Regions from separate parts of the Homo sapiens genome. Here regions 1 and 2 are each linked to region 3. Evidence: promoter capture Hi-C in human tissues and cell types (Jung and others, 2019). All regions are on one chromosome and are shown on one strand. The core of a region is centred on a gene start or on the middle of the fragment in contact, and the rest is flanking DNA. Distances in the headings are between cores, read along the strand shown. Region 1 overlaps ASH1L (ASH1 like histone lysine methyltransferase). Region 2 overlaps ASH1L (ASH1 like histone lysine methyltransferase). Region 3 holds the start of SCAMP3 (secretory carrier membrane protein 3).

Evidence for each region. Contacts are between HindIII fragments. The study calls those that stand out against the background at their distance.
Region 1: a fragment that was not itself captured here is called in contact with the fragment with the promoter of SCAMP3 in region 3 in 1 of the 25 tissues and cell types used here (heart right ventricle).
Region 2: a contact is called between a fragment that was not itself captured here and the fragment with the promoter of SCAMP3 in region 3, in 2 of the 25 tissues and cell types used here (IMR-90 fibroblasts and adrenal gland).

Annotation. Positions count from the first base shown.
Region 1 is chr1:155,402,224-155,406,325 of GRCh38, forward strand. All of the region lies in intron 6 of ASH1L (ASH1 like histone lysine methyltransferase), which reads right to left. Among named protein-coding and RNA genes, the nearest start is that of MIR555, 58 kb to the left of the region's middle. The HindIII fragment of the contact is 7,949 bases long and covers 1-4,102 here.
Region 2 is chr1:155,433,341-155,437,338 of GRCh38, forward strand. The region is part of intron 5 of ASH1L (ASH1 like histone lysine methyltransferase); the gene reads right to left. It also overlaps the pseudogene POU5F1P4. Among named protein-coding and RNA genes, the nearest start is that of MIR555, 89 kb to the left of the region's middle. The HindIII fragment of the contact is 6,117 bases long and covers 1-3,998 here.
Region 3 is chr1:155,260,258-155,264,062 of GRCh38, forward strand. It overlaps SCAMP3 (secretory carrier membrane protein 3), which reads right to left and starts at 2,103. Exons shown (of 9, transcript NM_005698.4): 1 at 1,829-2,103; 2 at 1,400-1,477; 3 at 280-402; 4 at 73-193. The coding sequence starts at 1,894. It overlaps CLK2 (CDC like kinase 2), which reads right to left. Exons shown (of 13, transcript NM_001294338.2): 12 at 3,693-3,783; 13 at 2,611-3,143. The coding sequence ends at 2,961. The HindIII fragment of the contact is 10,284 bases long and covers 1-3,805 here.

The sequences.
Region 1 (4,102 bases), core at 422-2,921, 140 kb after region 3:
AACAGACTCCCTTAATGTTCTTTCATAAACAATATGGCAACTTTTGCCCTGGGGATATGAATTTGAAGAAGGGGGAGGCATCATTTTTTCATAATGTCACCTTTCCCTAACCTTGCTCCAATCCAGACCATTTTACTGCACAACTTAAAATCCTCAAGGAATACGGCACTTTTAGATAAAAAGGTAAAATTATATTTCAGATTACTATATAAACTTTATGCTAAAAAGTACAGAATGTAAAAAATGGACATGTTATTCTAGAGCTAATCTTTTAAATAAAAAAAAGGAATTAATCAAATGGTCCAGACAAGTTATCCATGTTTTACTGCTTTGTTTTGTTTTTAAAGACAGGGCCTTGTTCTGCCACCCAGGTTGTACAGTGGTGCAATCATAATTCAATGCAGCCTTGAACTCCTAAGGCTCAAGCAATCCCACCATCCCAGTCTACTGAGTAACTAGGACTACAGGTCTGTGTGCCACTATGCCTGGATAATTATTTAAAAACTTTTTGTAGAGATGGGGTCCTCACCATGATGTCTAGGCTGGTCTCAAACTCCTGGCCTCAAGCAATCCTCCTACCTTGGCCTCCCGAAGTACTGGGATTACAAGTATGAGCCACCACACCCAGCCAAGTTATACTTTTTTTTTTTTTTTTTTTCAGCATAAAAAGACATTGAAGGCCGGGTATGGTTGCCTGTAATCCCAGCACTTTGGGAAGCTGAGGTGGGTGGATCACCTAAGGTCAGGAGTTCAAGACCAGCCTGGCCAACATGGTGAAACCCGTCTCTACTAAAAAAAAAAAAATACACAAATTAGCCAGGTGTGGTAGCGCACGCCTGTAATCCCAGCTACTTGGGAGGCTGAGACAGGAGAATCGCTTGAACCTGGGAGGCAGAGGTTACAGTGAGCCAAGATCGTGCCATTGCACTCCAGTCTGGGTGACAAGAGCGAAACTCCATCTCAAAAAAAAAAAAGAGCTGGTGGTGGTGCAAATGCCTCTAATCCCAGCCTTTTGGAGGTTGCAGCTGAAGGATCATTGTGGAAGGATCCCAGGAGTTTCAGACCAGCCTAGGCAATGGAGTGAAACTCCTGTTTCAAAAAAAACCAAAAAAACCCACAAAAGATATGTCAGTACTGTAGAAGCTAAGTAAAGTAGGGAAAAGTACAAACAACTCTGCAGCCAATTATTGCCAGAACTCAAATGTTAACTATGCTATTGACTAACTGTAAAACTCTAGACAAATTACTTAAGTTTCTCTAATTCTCTAAGCCTTAGCTTCTTCAATAATATTAATAATACCTGTTCTCTCACAAGGTTCTTGAATAAATTTATAAGATAACATATATAAACTCATTAGCACAGTAACTGGCACATAATAGGTATGCAAGAAGTATTAACTTTCTTTTTACTTCTTCAGTATTAGCCCAGACTAATATACCTGAAAAAATTCCAAATATATTAGGGAACTAGATGCAAAAATTGAATCCAAGCAATTACCAGAAGAAAACAAAAGTAAATTTCTTACTTGCTTAAAATTTGTGTGTGGGAGAGCTTTTCTAATGACTTGAAATACAGAAGCTTTTTTTGGAGGGCGGCGATCTATTCTGCAGAAGCTGTATCCCCTCTTTCACTTCCTGCTGCAGCCAATAAAGGCCGTTCCTACCATTAAAAAAAAAAAAAAATAGCCAGGTATGGTGATGCCATGCCTGTAATCCCAGCTACTCGGGAGGCTGAGGCAGGAGAATCGCTTGAACCTGGAAGGCAGAGGTTGCAGTGAGCCAAGAACGCACCATTGCACTCCAGCCTGGGCAACAAGAACGAAACTCCGTCTCAAAAAAAAAAAAAAAAAGGAAGCAACCTGGGCACGGTGGCTCACACCTACAATCCTAGCACTTTGGGAGGCCAAAGAGGGACTTGACTCAAGAGTTCAAGACCAGCCTGGGCAACATAGAGAGACCCTGTCTCTGAAAAAATAAAAAAATTAGTCCAGTGTGGTGGCATGTACCTGTAGTCCCAGCTACTGGAGGAGGCTGAGGTAAGATGAACGCTTGAGTCTAGGAGGTGGAGACTGTAGTGAGCTGGTATTATGCCACTGTACTCTAGTCTGGATGAGAGGTAGACTCTGTCTTTAAAAAAGAAAAAAATCCAGAAGCAATTTAAAAATAAAGGCCAGATATAGTGGCTAACCCCTGTAATCCCAACACTTTGGAAGGACAAGGCAGGAGGATCACTTGAGGCCAGGAGCTCAAGACCAGCTCAGGCAACATGGCAAGACCTCATTGTCTCTACAAAAAATAAAAAAATTAGCTAGATGTGGTGACGATGTGAATGATCTTAAGCAAAGTCAAGACACACATGACGGAATCCACTAAAAGACTCTTAGGACTAACACCTAGGTTACAGGAGACAAACTCAATACATGAAACACATCTGTCAGGGTAAACTGGTGGGAAAAAAAAATCAATTGTATTTCTATACATAGCAATAAACAATCCAAAAATTTAATTTAAAATATCCAATTGGAGGGCTGGGCGTGGTGGCATGCCTGTCATCCCAGCACTTTGGGAGGCTGAGGCAGGCGGATCACGAGGTCAAGAGATCGAGACCGTCCTGGCCAACACGGTGAAACTCTTTCTCTACTAAAAACACAAAAATCAGCTGAGTGTGGTGGTGCGTGCCTGTGGTCCCAGCTACTCGGGAGGCTGAGGCAGGAGAATCGCTTGAACCTGGGAAACAGAGGTTGCAGTAAGCTGAGACCGCACCACTGCACGCCAGCCTGGTGACAGAGTGAGACTCCATCTAAAAAAAAATAATAATAATAGAATAAAAATAAAAAAATAAAAATAAAAAATCCAATTCCAATTACAACAATTACAATAGCAGTAAATTAAAAAAAAATTCTTGGGAACAAGATTAACAAAAGAAGAATAGCACCTGTACACTAAAAACTATAAAACACTGTTAAAAGTTTTGAGGCCAGGGGCAGTGACTCGTGCCTGTAATCCCAGCACTTTAGGGGGCTGAGGGGGGGGCAGATCACTTGAGGTCAGGAGTTCGAGACCAGCCTGGCCAACATGGTGAAACCCTGTCTCTACAAAAATATAAAAATTAGCCAGGTGTGTTGGCATGCACCCATATTCCTAGCTAATCAGGAGGCTGAGGCACGAGAATCACTTGAACCCAAGAGGGGGAAGTTGCAGTGAGCCGAGATGAAGCCGCTGCCCTCAAGCCTAGGCGACAGAGTGAGACTCAGTCTCATTAAAACAAACAAACAAAACAACAACAACAAACACTGTTAAAAGTTTTGGTTAAAGATCAAAATAGGTCGGGCATGGTCACTCATCCCTGTAATCTTAGCAATTTGGGAGGCCTAGGTGAGTGAATCACCTGAGGTCAGGAGTTCAAGATCAGCTTGACCAACATGATGAAACCCTGTCTCTACAAAACTACAAAAAATTAGCCGGGCATGGTGGTGTGGGCCTGTAGCCCCATCTGTTTGGGAGGCTGAGGCAGGAGAATCACCTGAACCTGGGAGGTGGAGGTTGCAGTGAGCCAAGATCAGGCCACTGCACTCCAGTCTGGGTGAGAGAGCGATTCTCTGTGTCAAAAAAAAAAAAAAAAAAGTCAAAATAAATGGAAAGACATCCCATATTCACAGATATGGTGATGACCAAATACTGTTAAGACAGCAAAACTTGGCCAGGTGCTGTAGCTCACGTCTGTAATCCCAGCGGTTTGGGAGGCCGAGGCGGATGGATCACTTGAGGTCCGGAGTTCGAGACCAGCCTGGCCAACATGGCAAAACCCTGGATCTACTAAAAATACAAAAAGTAGATGGGCATGGTAGCACATGCCTGTAATCCAAACTACTAGGGAGGCTGACAGAAGAGAATTGCTTAAACCCAGGGGGCGAAGGTTGCAGTGAGCTAAGATGGTGCCACTGCACTCCAGCCTGGGCGACAGAGTGAGACTCTGTCTCAAAAAAAAAAAAAAAAAAAAAGATGACAAAACTTCCCAAATTGATCTAGAGTCTGTGAAGATTCCAGTTGCATTTTTTGCAGAAATAGATAAGCTGATCCTAAAAAATCACAGAGAAATGGC
Region 2 (3,998 bases), core at 1,093-3,592, 170 kb after region 3:
GCTCTGAGGTGTGGGGGATTCCCCCATGCCCCCCGCTGTATGAGTTCTGTGGGGGGATGGCGTACTGTGGGCCTCAGGTTGGAGTGCGGCTAGTGCCCCAAGGCGGCTTGGAGACCTCTCAGCCTGAGGGCGAAGCAGGAGTCAGGGTGGAGAGCAACTCCGATGGCACCTCCCTGGAGCCCTGCACCGTCCCCCCTGGTGCCGTGAAACTGGAGAAGGAGAAGCTGGAGCAAAACCCGCAGGAGTCCCAGAACATCAAAGCTCTGCAGAAAGAACTCGAACAATTTGCCAAGCTCCTGAAGCAGAAGAGGATCACCCTGGGATATACACAGGCCGATGTGGGGCTCACCCTGGGGGTTCTATTTGGGAAGGTGTTCAGCCAAACGACCATCTGCCGCTTTGAGGGTCTGCAGCTTAGCTTCAAGAACATGTGTAAGCTGCGGCCCTTGCTGCAGAAGTGGGTGGAGGAAGCTGACAACAATGAAAATCTTCAGGAGACATGCAAAGCAGAAACCCTCTTGCAGGCTCGAAAGAGAAAGCGAACCAGTATCGAGAACCGAGTGAGAGGCAACCTGGAGAATTTGTTCCTGCAGTGCCCGAAACCCACACTGCAGCAGATCAGCCACATCGCCCAGCAGCTTGGGCTCGAGAAGGATGTGGTCCGAGTGTGGTTCTGTAACCGGTGCCAGAAAGGCAAGCAATCAAGCAGCGACTATGCATAACGAGAGGATTTTGAGGCTGCTGGGTCTCCTTTCTCAGGGGTACCAGTATCCTTTCCTCTGGCCCCAGGGCCCCATTTTGGTACCCCAGGCTATGGGAGCCCTCACTTCACTGCACTGTACTCCTCGGTCCCTTTCCCTGAGGGGGAAGCCTTTCCCCCGTCTCCGTCACCACCCTGGGCTCTCCCATGCATTCAAACTGAGGTGCCTGCCCTTCTAGGAATGGGGGACAGGGGGAGGGGAGGAGCTAGGGAAAGAGAACCTGGAGTTTGTGCCAGGGCTTTTGGAATTAAGTTCTTCATTCACTAAGGAAGGAATTGGGAACACAAAGGGTGGGGGCAGGGGAGTTTGGGGCAACTGGTTGGAGGGAAGGTGAAGTTCAATGATGTTCTTGATTTTAATCCCACATCATGTATCACTTTTTTCTTAAGCCTGGGACACAGTAAAAAAAAAAAAAAAAAAAAAAAATTGAAAAGACCCTAAGATCTAACAGTATATAAGAATTTAGGATGGTGGGGCGCCGTAGCTCACACCTGTAATCCCAGCACTTCGGGAGGCCGAGGCGGGAGGATCATCAGGTCAGGAGTTTGAGACCAGCCTGACCAATATGGTAAAAACCCGTCTCTACTAAAAATACAAAAAAATTAGCCAGGCATGGTGGTGTGGTGGTGTGCGCCTGTAATCCCAGCTACTCAGGAGGAGAATCACTTGAACCTGGGAGGCAGAGGTTGCAGTGAGCCGAGATTGTGCCACTGTATACCAGCCTGGGCGACAGAGCGAGACTCCGTCTCAAAAAAAAAGAAAAAAAGAATTTAGTGCTGGGTGTGGTGAGTCATGCCTGTAATCACAGTACTTTGGGAGGCCAAGGCAGGCGGATCACTTGAGGTCAGGAGTTCAAGACCAGCCTGGCCAACATGGGGAAACCCCGTCTCTACTAAAAATACAAAAATTAGCTGGGCATGGTGGCGCATGCTTGTAATCCCAGCTACTTGGGTGGCTGAGGCATGAGAATCACTTGAACCCAGGAGACAGAGGTTGCAGTGAGCCAAGATTGCGCCACTGCATTCCAGCCTGGGTGACTCGGTCTCAAAAACAATAACAACAACAGCAACAACAAAAACTTAGTGTATGATAAATGTATCATTCCAAATAAGTTGGGAATGGCTAAACTAATCAATAGTACTGAAAGAAAATTAAACCTCTAACTCATAGCTAATATTCAGTATTACATAAGTGACATAAAGAGCTAAATATAAAAAAGCAAGATCTAGTCAATCACAACAGTGTAATTACATAAATTATGATATATTCCTACCACAGTATAAGGTAATTCTGTATGTTCTGATGACAAGCTCTCAGCATTAAAGAATACACAATGTACTGTTAATAGCGTTATCCATGGAGAGAAGAATGGGATAAGAGCAAGTGAGAGCATGTGAAAAGAGACTTTTACTTTTAAATCAGTAAACTACTAGTTTAATTAAATTATTTATTACCAGCGTGTATTGCTCCTGAAATTAAAAAATATATTCTCTAGAAAAAAGCAATTATTTTTATATAGGTGGATGGAAAAAAAAAAAAACCCTCTCTATACAGGATTCACCAGGAGAGATGATAGAGAATATGAGTAAGAGTGAACATGCCACATTAAGAAAAGCCATTTATAAATGATGAACATTAAATTGGTTCATTAAAAAATATTAAATATGGGCCAGGCGTGGTGGCTCACGCCTGTAATCCCAGCACTTTGGGAGGCTGAGACGGGTGGATCACCTGAGGTCAGGAGTTCGAGGCTAGCATGGCCAACATGGTGAAACCTCGTCTCTACTAAAAATACAAAAATTAGCCAGGCATGGTGGTGCGCACCTGTAATCACAGCTGCTCAAGAGGCTGAAGCAGGAGAATCACTTGAAACCACGAGGTGGAGGGTGCAGTGAGTGGAGATCGTGCCATTGCACTCCAGGCTGGGTGACAGAGTGAAACTCCATCTCAAAAAATAAATAAATAAAAATAAGAATGGTTTATTGCCTGTGGCTTTGTTATTACATCTAAGAAATCACGGCCAAATTCAATGCTGTGAAGCTTTTGCCCTATATTTTCTCCTAAGAGTTTACAGTTTTATTTTTATTTATTTATTTATTTATTTTGAGACAAAGTTTCGCTCTTGTTGCCCAGGCTGGAGTGTGATGGTGCAATCTCGGCTCACTGCAACCTCTCCACCTCCCGTGTTCAAGGGATTCTCCTGCCTCAGCCTCCTGAGTAGCCGGGATTACAGGCATGTGCCACCATGCCCAGCTAATTTTGTATTTTTAGTAGAGACGGGGTTTCTCCATGTTGATCAGGCCGGTCTCGAACTCCTGACCCTCAGGTGATCCAGCTGCCTCAGCCTCCCAAAGTGCTGGGATTACAGGCGTGAGCCACCATGCGTGGACTTTTTTTTTTTTTTTTTTTTTTTGAGAAGGAGTCTCGCTTTGTCACCCAGGCTGGAGTGCAGTGGCGCAATCTCGGCTCATCACAACCTCCGCCTCCTGGGTTCAAGCAATTCTCCTGCCTCAGCCTCCCAAGTAGCTGGGATTACAGGCACACACCACCACGCCTGGCTAATTTTTCTATTTTTAGTAGAGACGGGGTTTCACTATGTTGGTTAGGCTGGTCTTGAACTCCTGACCTCGTGATCCGCCCACCTTGGCCTCCCAAACTGCTAGAATTACAGGCGTGAGCCACCACGCCTGGCCAAGAGTTTCTGGTTTTAGATTTTACATTTACATCTTTGATCCATTTTGAGTTAGATTTTGTATATGGTTTAAAGTAAGACTACAACTTCATTCTTTTGCATGCAGATACCCAGTTTTCCCAGCATGATTTGTCAAAAAGACTGTCTTTTACCCTGCTGAATGGTTTTGGCACCTTTGTCAAAAATCATCTGACCATGCATGCAAGGTTTTATTTCTGGGCTCTCTATTCTACTTCGCTGGTCTATATGTCTCTCTTTATGCTACTACCATACGGTTTTGATTACCATAGCTTTATAGATAAAACAGACAATTGGACTTCATAGATATCAGAAAATTTTGTACGTCAAAAGACAGCATAAACAAAGTAAAAATGCAATCCACAGAATAGGAGAAAAGATTTGCTTATATGCCGGTTAAGAGAATAATATCCAGAATATATTGAGAACTGCTAAAACTCAACAACAAACCAAATAGCCCAATCAAAAAATTGAAAAAGCGATTGAGTAGACACTTCTCTAAAGATACATAAATGGCCAATAAGCGT
Region 3 (3,805 bases), core at 853-3,352:
GAGCCCAGGCCCTTAAGACCTGTTTTTGCTCCTCCCAAACTCTCAGATGCTCTTCCCCACTCTATTACTTACTAGCTGTGCCCCCCAGGGCAGCATGCTGCAGCTCTCGCTCCCTTCGGTCCAACTCCTCTGCCTTCCGGTTGAGCTCCTCCTGTTTCTTCAGCAGCTCAGCTGTGGCTGCTGCAGCTGAGGCCTGCCCAGTGTGAGCAGACGGAGATGTGAGCCCTGGGCCCCAGGACTGGCCCTTCTCCCCAGCCCTCACCTGCACACCTCCTGTACCTGAGTGCTGTATGAGCCATAGTTCTTAGGTTCTGTGGGGCTGAGCTTTCTCGAGGGCTGCAAGGAGGGAGCTGAGGGTGGAGGCAATGGGGCAGGGGCTGGAGGCTCATAGGCTGGTGGTGGCTGTTGAGGAAAAGACCTTAGTGATCATCTAGTCCCTCATAACACAGGAATCTAGAGTCTGCTTGAATACCTTTAGACCCAGAACTCATGATGTAAGGAAGCAGCCTTTCCCCCATTTGTTAGGAAGCTAGTTCTTCTGTTGAATTTCTGTCAGAGAACTCTATGATGACCTGTAGCAGCCTTATCATCCCTCATATCCAATTCCTTAGTGAGGACTCAAATCACTCATTTACCATATCTCCCCACTTAACTGTGTTTTTTTTTTTTCTTTTCTTCTGGGGATGGAGTGTGGGGTTGTCTCTCTGCCACCCAGGCTGGAGTGCAGTGGTGCAATCATCACTCATCGAAGCCTCAAACTCCTGGGCCCAAGCAGTCTTTCCATCCCAGCCTCCCAAGTAGCAAGGACTACAGGCATGTGCCACTACACCTAGCCAATTTTTAAAACGTTTCAAGAGATGGGGGTCTCGCTGTTGCCCAGGATGGTCTCCATCAAATTCCTGGGCTCAAGCAATCCTCCCACCTCAGCCTCCCAAGTGGGATTACAGGCATGCACACCATGCTTGGCTTTTTTTTTTAAGTTTTAAGTACCATGAAAACCCCTTAAATTCTTACAACTCACCATCTTCTAATCCAGTGGGACAAACAGGTGTAGTCCTCCTCATTCCTTGCTTTCAAACTGCACACCTAACCTAAACTCCAACCAGCCCCAACCTTTATTTTCTTCAAGAAAGCCTTCCCATACAGAACATTGGTTAAGGCCTTGCCAGCCTCCAGATCTTCCCAGGACTGACTTTTAGAGCTCAAACCATTTGGGTTGGTGGCCCTGGTGGCCCTAGAAGGATGAGGCATCCCATGGCTGACTAGCCTCTCTCAGGGAACTAAGATCACAGTGCCTCTTCCTTCCTGTGCATGCAGAAAAGTCCCCTGTACCCAAGCTAACTTGTCTCACTGGCAAACCCTTCCCTTCCTTGAACTCCTATGCTCTCCAGTAGCTCACCTCCCGGGTCTCAAAAGGGTTGTAGACGTCAAGCGTGGCATACTGCCGGCTGGGTCGGTGCTGGATCACAGCTGGGTCCTGAGGGCAGAGACCCGGGTCTCAGCTGGCACCCAGTGCCACCTAGGGGAATTCCCAGGGACCATTCCCAAACTGCCTGTGGCTCCAAGTACTGCACCTTCGGGGCCACGCCGTTGTCCCAGGACTGGGACAACATTTACCTCAAATCCATCATCCAACACTGCCAGCACCAGCCCATTAAGGGGCAGGGCCCGCCCCCCAGAGTGCTCACTGGTCTGGAGTCACTGTCACCCCACGTGGCGGCTCTTCCCAGGATCAAATGTCACAAATGGGGATACAAGTTAGCCCGACCCTACAGAACCGGGAAGAATCAACCTGACCGCCCAAAAGAGGCCGACTGGCGCAAGTCACCTGAAAGGGGTTGTCAAGCTCGCTGGGCTCGGCGAACGGGTTTCCGCCGTCTCTGCTCTGAGCCATGTTTGCAACTGCGGCCTCCGCGGCCCTCTGCCCTCCACGCCCCTGCCGCAGCAGTGGCGGTAGCGGTAGCCCTCAGAGTCCACTTCACTCGCCTCAGTTCGCCCCGCTTCTCTGTGCACGGATTGGTTCCACCGACCGGAAGGGCCACAAGGATCCCCGCAGCAGCCGTGGGTTGCGCCTGCGTCTTGTCCAAAAGCTAAGACGAAAGTGCCCCCACGTGATACCTCTAACCCAGTGCCCACAACCAACTACCGCCCCTCTTCCATGTGACTTCCTTCCACTAACGAACTACACTTCCCAGCAGGCCTCGCGTAGGAATCCGGCCTTCCTAGTCTCCCGAGATGGACGACGGGAGCCTTCTGACCGGTCGTGGCAATCCCCCCTAGGAGCCAGGTTGAGCACGTTTTCAACCTGAGTTTCTGGCTCTATACTGGGCCGCGGCCTAATGACTCTAGGAGTCAGATCTTTCCCAACTCTCATAATTCCACATCCGAGAAGTGCCACCTCATAACACTTCTCTGTTTTAATCTGAAAGAAATGCTGCCCCACCCATCACTACCCTCCCATATGATAAGGTGGACAGGGGAAATAAACTGGTAGCCTGGCTGTGCTTCATTTTGGAGGGTAAGGAGGACTCCCTTCATACCCAAACTCAGAAAGTTTGCCAATAGTTTCATCCCTCCACCCCAGCATTCCCAAACCTCCAACTCCAGGGATGGGGGTCAAATGAAGCACGTTATTTTATTTCACAAAGACTGTACAAAATTCCTTATAAAACATGGGGTAGATGCCACCTGGTTACCTCACTCGGCCCCCATCCAACTCCGTATGAGGGGGCAGGTGAGGGTGGAAACTGTGTGGATGGAATAGTATTATGTACAAGGCAGGGGTTGAAGTGATAGGTACAAGTTCTTTCATATTTACACTATTTCACATATTCACAGGTATATAGAGAGCCAGGAGGAAGGAGTGAACTCTGGCTCGTTCTCTTGTATAAAAAAGCACCAGTGTCCTGGACTGGACACCCACTGCTATAAAAGATGCAGGGGGGCCCAGGGCCTGATCGTCACCGACTGATATCCCGACTGGAGTCCCACAACTTGTTGGGCGGCTCAGCCCGAAGGCGGGCGAAGAAAGGATGCTGAAGGGCTTCACCCAAGGTCAGCCGCTTAGCTGGTTCATACTCTAGCATGCTTTCAATCAGATCGAAGAGCTGGTGGTGTTCCTCTGCCTCTGAGGTCAGATACCGCTGGTGGAGGAGGGCAGGAAAAAGGTGAGGCAGGATGCCTTACAAACCCTGCCTTCTTCAAGACCCTACCTTTCATTCTTGGAGAACCAAGGCTCTGCTTGCAACCAATTTGAAGGCTACCTAACCACGACCACACCAGGACCAACGTTTCTGATATTATAGCTCAACCTACCTTCCCACTAGCACAATTACTCCATAATCTTTGAAAGTTCTTTCTACTTGTATATCCTTGTCAACTTCATGAATCTTCTTTAGTTCCTCATTAAAATGTAAGCTCTTCAAAGGTAGTTTATTCTTTTCTGTCTGACCTAAAGAATCCAGGACATTGCTTTGATCTCTGGTTGTCTCAAGGTTAGGCTGTCTAACCTCCTTCCCTCCACAAAACCACTCCCTCTTATGTTTCCTCTGTTGACCAAAGATGTCTTCTTTCAGCTTTCCTCCCCTCCTTTCCTAACCCTCTGCTTGTGAAGAGCATTCCAGGGGGCAAACCACCCTAAGAAGGAAGTGACTTCTGGACGGTGGGCACTATTTATCCCGAGCCCAGCTCACCCGCAGCGGTTTGCAGTTCTCACGAACATAGCGCCCAGCTGATGTGTTCTCATCCCAATCCAGGCGACCCCGGTAAAAATATTTCTGCTTTCTAGAGGGGAAGGGGAGGTTGA